2 separate regions of the Homo sapiens genome follow, and region 2 is linked to region 1. Evidence: promoter capture Hi-C in 16 types of primary human blood cells and fetal thymus (Javierre and others, 2016). All regions are on one chromosome and are shown on one strand. Each heading gives the region's core, a stretch centred on a gene start or on the middle of the fragment in contact. The rest is flanking DNA. Distances are from core to core; before and after follow the strand shown.

Evidence for each region. Contacts are between HindIII fragments. The CHiCAGO score rates a contact against its expected background, and 5 or more counts as called.
Region 2: a fragment that was not itself captured here is called in contact with the fragment with the promoter of KIR3DL3 in region 1 in 1 of 17 cell types (monocytes); the score reaches 5.0 in monocytes.

What each region holds. Positions count from the first base shown.
Region 1 is chr19:54,722,481-54,726,341 of GRCh38, reverse strand. KIR3DL3 (killer cell immunoglobulin like receptor, three Ig domains and long cytoplasmic tail 3) reads right to left here and starts at 1,900. Exons shown (of 8, transcript NM_153443.5): 1 at 1,812-1,900; 2 at 1,060-1,095; 3 at 5-289. The coding sequence starts at 1,845. The HindIII fragment of the contact is 6,556 bases long and covers 907-3,861 here.
Region 2 is chr19:54,865,449-54,869,309 of GRCh38, reverse strand. KIR3DL2 (killer cell immunoglobulin like receptor, three Ig domains and long cytoplasmic tail 2) reads right to left here. Exons shown (of 9, transcript NM_006737.4): 7 at 3,401-3,505; 8 at 2,888-2,940; 9 at 2,103-2,788. The coding sequence ends at 2,579. It also overlaps the pseudogene RNU6-222P. Among named protein-coding and RNA genes, the nearest start is that of FCAR, 6.9 kb to the left of the region's middle. The HindIII fragment of the contact is 1,827 bases long and covers 1,342-3,168 here.

The sequences.
Region 1 (3,861 bases), core at 651-3,150:
TGACCTGTGACCATGATCACCACAGGGTTGCTGGGTGCCGACCACCCAGTGGGGGAGTGTGGGTGTGAACTGCAACATCTGTAGGTCCCTGCATGTGCTGGGGTCACAGGGCCCATGAGAAAGCTGTTCCGGAATATTCTGTTGTAGAGCTCAGGGACAGGCATCCCGTCTTCTTTGGACAGACTGAATTCATTAAACCCAAGACGAGAGCGACACTGAAGAGTCACATGTTGTCCTTCAGACACCACAGTGCCGGGCCAGGCAGAGAGGAAGGGCTTGTCCTGACCACCTGGGGGAGAAGGAGGCACCACCTTAGAGAGGAGGATGTGGAGCCGCCCCTCCCTCCCTGTGCTCAGAAGATTCTCCCATTTCCACGTTTCTAAGGCTCCTACCACACCTGGGTGCCCAGGGCTACAGGAAGGACCCATCCCGCATAGACATGGCGTCTCCCTACAGCAAGTGTCAGCTGAGAACTTTGAGCAGGTGCTGAAGAAGCGACTCTTACTAGATTTTAACACTGCAAAATTACTTACATAAAAGAACACAAGGTAGACACAGGATGGAGGGCATGATCAGCTAATGCATGAACCATAATAAACAACTGAGCCCCTATTAGAAGATCTGGAATGTCAGGGTCATGACTGTGGTTCCCCCACCTCTTAGGTAGAATGACAGCAGCCACATTGCAGCCCCTACCGTCATGGAAACGCTGGAGGGTGTGAGTTATGCTCTTGTCCTCAGAGGCCTGTTGTTCCTTGCACTGCTTCTCTCCCTTCCTCTGCCGGTGACACCACTTCCTCCCTGCACACCACTCCTTTGAGCACTTCAGTCTCCCCCTGGGTCCCCACAGACTCAGCCAAGGGAAAGAAAGGCCGGGGAGGGCTAGGACAGAACTGTGGCGAAGCTTCCCCTGGCTTCCTTTTCCTAGTTCATGAGAGATTCCCACATGGCTTCCCATGGTCAGCCCATCAGTCAACCCCCTGTGTCGCCTGCCTCCCGTTTCAGGAGCATCATCTTATGTGGGGAGATGACAACCTAAGGTTTGGGGGAAGGACTCACCCACATGTGGCCAGGGCCCCTCCAGCAAGAAGAACCCTGGAAAGAAAGATCATGATGGATGATCCATCTGTACATCACCTCCAGGCCCATATCTCCACTCCAGGCCCATATCTCCACCTCTAGGCCCATATCTCCACTCCAGGCCTATATCTCCACCTCCGTCCTATATCTCTACTCCAGGCCCATATCTCCACTCCAGGCCTATATCTCCACCTCCGTCCTATATCTCTACTCCAGGCCCATATCTACACTCCAGGCCCATATCTCCACCTCCAGGCCTGTATCTCCACCTCCAGGCCCGTGTCTCCATTCCAGGCCCATATCTGCACTCCAAGCCAACATCTCCACTCCAGGCCCGTATCTCTACTCCAGGCCCATATCTACAGTTCCAGGCCCATATCTCCACCTCCAGGCCCATATCTCCACTCTAGGCCCATATCTCCACCTCCAGGCCCGTATCTCAATTCCAGGTCCATATCTGCACTCCAAGCCAATATCTCCACTCCAGGCCCATATCTACAGTTCCAGGCCCATATCTCTACTCCAGGCCCATATCTCTACTTCAGGCCCATATCTACAGTTCCAGGCCCATATCTCCACTCCAGGCCCATATCTCCACCCCAGGCCCATATCTCCACTCCAGGCCTATATCTCCACTCCAGGCCCATATCTCCACTCCAGGCCCAGATCTCCACTCCAGGCCCAGATCTCCACCCCAGCGCTCCCTCCCTCGATTCCCTTCCAGGACTCACCAACACACGCCATGCTGACGACCATGAGCGACATGGTGCTGCCGGTGCAGACAGGCGGCTGCGCCCCAGCTCAGTTCAGCAGCACACAGGATGTTGTGAGGGGCTCATGCAGTTTACATGCTGACCACATCATGGGAGGATGACGTATGCAGGCTATTTCTACCTTGCATGAGGCCCAGTGGCTGTTTGGTCAAGAGCGGAACATGGCTTCCTGGAAATTGTTCCAACTAGAATTGACACCTTGCATCCTTCACTATAACCAACTCAAAACACGTCTCAGATCCAATCTCTCATACAGGAGATGACTGAATGCTTGGCTTACATTAAAGACTTTTGATGTATTTTTGTTGTTTTTATCTGAGATTCAAACTCTTCTTCATGTGCTATTTTCCCCAGGCTGTTCTTTGACTTCAGAGTTCAAGCAATCCTCCTGCCCCAGCATTTCTAGCAGCTGGCAGTATGTCACAATCTGCCACACCCAAGTCACAACTTTTAGAACTTTTTTTTTTTTTGAGACGCAATCTCACTTCGTCACCCAGTTTGGAATGCAGTGGTGAGACCTCGGCTCATTGCAGCCTCCACCTCCCAGGTTCACGCAATTCTCGTGCCTCAGCCTCCTAAGTAGCTGGATTTACAGGCACCCACCATCACGCCCACCTAATTTTTGTACTTTTAGTAGAGAGGAGGTTTCTCCATGTTGGCCAGGCTGGTCTTGAACTCCTAACCTCAAGTGATCTGTCTACTTCAGCCTCCCAAAGTGCTGAGATTACAGGTGTGAGCCACCATGCCTGGCCGGGACATTCTATATGTGTGCGTATGTGTGCGTTTATATACATATGGTTATACACACACACACACACACACACCCTAAGCACTCACATATATAGTTGTTTCAAATTTTAAAAAATATAAATTTTGTATTTTTCTTTCTTTTTCTCACATTTGTGTTTCTATGACACCATATACATATTGAATTTTATAGTTCTATTTTATTCTTTTGGATTGCAGTTTAATAGTCCATACATAACTTTATCAACATGTAATTATCCACTCTTTTTATCATGGACATTTGTGTTGTTTCCGGATTTTCTCTTTTATAACTCGGGCCTTGATAATCGTGTTTCTGTGTGATCCCTTGCATACATATGCTGAATTAATTAGACATATTTACCTAGGAATGAAATTATTGGTTTTGGGTGCAAGTTGGTGTTGAGCTTAACCAGGAAGTGCCAAAATATTTCCATCATGACCAAATGTGGCCTGGAAAGTTTTTTGGGGTCAATTTTCCTGTTTCTTCTAAGGAACAAAATTGATGTCACTGATTTTTCTGTCCTGTTTGTCATTTATGAATATACGTACATATGCACGTATATATTTGCTTGCCATTTTATGTTTTTCCTCGACGTTACTTTGGAATTAATTTGCTGATGTGTAGTATTTCTGCAAGCGAAAGTTACCTATTTACTCAGCTCTTCCTTCTTTTCTAACACAGACATTTGAGGCTTATTTTCCTTTAACACTGTTCTATCTGTATCCCCAGTCATTTGCCGAGATGTGTTTTCATTTTTAATTGATACAAAATATTTTCCACCTTTCTTTGAAATGTTTTTCTTCCACTCATTGTTTATTGCTATGTGTGTTTATTAATTTTAAAATATTTGATAATTTCCCCAGCATTTCCTTGTTGTACATTTATAATTTAATTCAACTGTTTCATCTATCATATTACCTATGATTCAGCATTTAAAAATTTATTTTGGTGAATGTTCCAGGGGTGCTAGACAAGTTTGTGGATTAGGAAGATTTGAGGTGGATGTTTTCTAAATGTCAGTTAAGAAAAAAATCATTCAAATGTTTTTCTTTATTTAAAAAAAATAGAGACGGGGTCTCACTATGGTGCCCAGGCTGGTCTCAAACTCCTGGCCTCAAGTGATCCTCCCATTTTGGCCTCCCAAAGTGCTAGGATTATTGAAATTATTAAATGTTTCATATCAACACCCAACCTTATGCACCCGCCGCCTACACAAATGTTTTTCAAGTCTTTCATATG
Region 2 (3,861 bases), core at 1,006-3,505, 140 kb before region 1:
GGCGGATCACGAGGTCAGGAGATCGAGACCATCCTGGCTAACACAGTGAAACCCCGTCTCTACTAAAAATACAAAAAATTAGCAGGGCGTGGTGGCGGGCGCCTGTAGTCCCAGCTACTCGGGAGGCTGAGGCAGGAGAATGGCGTGAACCCAGGAGGCGGAGCTTGCGGTGAGCCGAGATCGCGCCACTGCACTCCAGCCTGGGTGACAGAGCAAGACTCCAGCTCAAAAAAAAAAAAAAAAAAAAAAAAAATCTACTCTCCCATGCTTGCCTCGGCAGCACATATACTAAAATTGGAACGATACAGAGAAAACTAGCATGGCCCCTGCGCAAGAATGACACGCAAATTCGTGAAGTGTTCCATATTTAAAAAAAAAAATCTACTTTCCTGGTAAATTTCAAGTATAGAGTACAGTATTGTCAACCATAGTGGCAAAGCTGTACAAGAGATCTTCAGACCCATTCCTCCTGAATACCTGATAGTTTGTATCCTTTGATCAACATCTCCCAATTCCCTCCCCCACACTGTCCCTGTAGTTCTAGTGAGTTTCCCAGACTCTGATGTCTCAATTTCATTCAGTCACTTTCCTCCAGATACATCTACCCATTCCTACTGCATCTTAGTATCCTGAGCCTTGGGGGCAGTTTCTGTGCCAAGTGGAAATGTGGAAATGAGATATTACGAAGAAAAATCTTTGCCCACCTAGACAGGGATCTGATGTTTTCCAAGATGACACATGATTACATGTTGAAATGATAATATTTTGAGTCTACTTGTATAATAAAATAATATTTTGGATCTATTAGGTTAATATTTTGGGTCTGTTGGGTTAATAATATTTTGGGTCCATTGGGTTAACTTAAATTAATTTTATCTGTTTCTTGTTAGCTTTTTAATTTGGATACTAGCAAGTTTGAAAGAATGCATGTGGTTTGCATTATGTTTCTATAGGACAGAACTTACCTGTAGATGTAAGGGAGTCACAACAAAATTACAAGCATTGTTTTTGGTGGAAATGAGAAAAATGATTACAAATTTACATGGAAAAGCAAATAGCCAATAATAATAATAATGGCAATCTTAAAGAGGAAGGAGAAATTAGAGGATTCAGGCTGCCAAATTTTAAGGGGTTCTATAAGGCCACATAAAGTGCAGCATCCTCATGAGAGTGGACACAGAGAGCCACTGAGCAGAAAAGAGTGTGTAAAATACATCTGTGTACACACAGTCCTTTTATAGTTGACAGAGGCTGCCATGCGGATTAAGGTGGAATAGAATGTCTTCTCAGTAAATAACATTGGACCAGAGGGTTACAAGCAGGAAAAAATAAATCTAAGCTTATTTTCACACCATAAAAACACTGCTAATTTTTTATCTTATTATCATACATTTTGATGATTTATTTATAAAATTGATGAATGAAAATTATATACAGTTGTCCTTCACTATTCATGGGTGATTGGTTCCAGGAAACCCCCCTCCCTACCAGACACCAAAATCTGCAGATGCTCAAGCCTGTTGCATGAAATGGCACAGCGTTTGCATATAACCCATGCACATCCTCCTGTATACATGAAATCATCTCTAGATTACTTATAATTCCTGATACAGCCTACACACCACCTCACTTGTGTCCACACAATATAGTATTTTTGCTTTTTGGAACTTTGTGGATTTTTTCTCTGAATATTTTTGATTTATATTTGGTTCAATAAACACCTGTAAACCCCACAGATATGGAGGAGCGACTGTATATTTATAGTATGAAAGATGATGTGTTGACATGTGTCCCTGTGGAGATGAGACTAACAAGGCCTATGACTCTACAAATGTTTCATCTTGGAATGACTCTGCCAGCTTTCCAGGTCTGCAGAGAGTAAGAATATCACTTGTTCATGTGATTCACGATCCTTGGAACCTCCTATGTGCTGCATCTTTGGATGGAAATTGGAGTCCCAGAGACAAATGAGGCTCCACCCTGCTTCCAGAAGCTCAGAGTCCAGGGCTGAGAACCCAGTAGAGAACATATCAGGTTATATGGACATAGTAATGATAACACTGGAAACTTTTGGCGAATAAAGAGTCACATTATCGAAACCATGAGGGCAGACATGTTTATTTGAAGAGGAGAGAGCTACACTGAAGTTATAAAAAAAATTTATAAATTTTACTGATGACAGAAGGCTGAAAGATAGTCTGAGGGGAGGTGGAACAGCATGAGGGAAGGTGGAACAGCAAGTGTGTAAGTGCCGTGTTAAGAGGGAGCCTCTTGTATGTTTGGAATTGTGAGTTCCTCAGTGTGATTGCAGCCTCAAGTAGGACTAGGAAGTAAGCCAGTTAGGTTGGAGAGGTGGGCAGGGGTCAAGTGAAATAGATACTTGTGGGCTAAGCAAAGGAGTGTGTTTTCTCTGCAGCAGGCAGTGGCGACCTTAGGCATTTGTAAGCAAGAGAGAGGCATGTTCAGATTCGTGGTGTGAGGAAGAGCGATCCCCTAAGATGCAGACTGATGCCTTCAGATTCCAGCTGCTGGTTCATTGGATCTGGCAACCTGGTTTTGAGACAGGGCTGTTGTCTCCCTAGAAAACCCCCTCAAGACCTGACTGTGGTGCTCGTGGGCAGGAGACAACTTTGGATCTGGGCTCAGCATTTGGAAGTTCCGTGTACACGCTGGTATCTGTTAGGGGTGTCTTGGGCCTCTGAGAAGGGCGACTGATTTTTCTCTGTATGAAAACGCAGTGATCCAACTGTGCGTACGTCACCTCCTGAGGGTCTTGTTCATCAGAGTCCTGGAGAGAGGGAAATGCTGAGTGAGGGAGGGTGCTCACATTTTTCAGGACTATTAGGGATAAGACTGTATCCGTGAGGCTGGGCCGAGGAGGACCTACCTGCCTATTCACTGTTCTGTCCCCCGCAGGCTCTTGGTCCATTACAGCAGCATCTGTAGGAGACGGAAGTCATCAAAACCGCTTGGAGGGCCCTTCTGGGTCCTCATTTCATGGGCAGACACCAACCCACAGGGGGAGGCTGTAGGTGCCTGAGGCTCTTCAGCTGCCAACATCCAGACTCAGACATTCTATCTCTCTGAGTTCAAGACCCCATCCCATGAAGTGCTCTCAATTGGCATCCCATTGATTCTGTCTCCCACTTTCTGCCTGTCATGGAAGCTTCTGGATGTCAGTAGCTGCAGGGGATGTGAGGATACAGTTCAGAACCAGGCAATGGTCTGTGAGCTGAAGGCAGGGGCAGGTTGTCTGGTGCTCTCTCTAGAAAGCCCTGCCTCTGTGGCTCCTCCCTTGGGCCAGGGACCATCCTGCCAGTGAGGAACACACACCCGCGTGCTCCCATCCTGCTTCCCCACATGGCCCTGAGCTCTCTGGCCTCTGCTTCGTGAGACTTACTCTTTTTGTTGGAGCACCAGCGATAAAGGAGAAAGAAGAGGAGGAGGATGAAGAGGAAGATGACCACTGAGGTCCCAATCAGAACATGCAGGTGTCTGCAGATACCTGGAGGAAGATGGGAATCCAATAAGAAGCTAATCATAGCAGTTCCTCTTTATGGATTGTCTCATTTCTTGATTGACAGGTAACCACATGGAACATCTCCTTAGGACAAGCAGCCTGATGGCGGGAGACCCAGCTTTCTCCTGCTTTCTCAGTTACAGCTCTCATAGAAACCATAGAACATGCTGAGGATACAGCTGCTTTAGTTTAGATGTTTGACCCTTTGAAACCTCACACTGAAATATTGAAATTTAACCCCCAGTGTGGAAGTTTGGGCCTATGGGAAGGTGTTTGAGTCATGGAGGTGGATCCATCATGAATAGATTAATGCTGCCCCACATGATGGGGTTAGCAAGTTC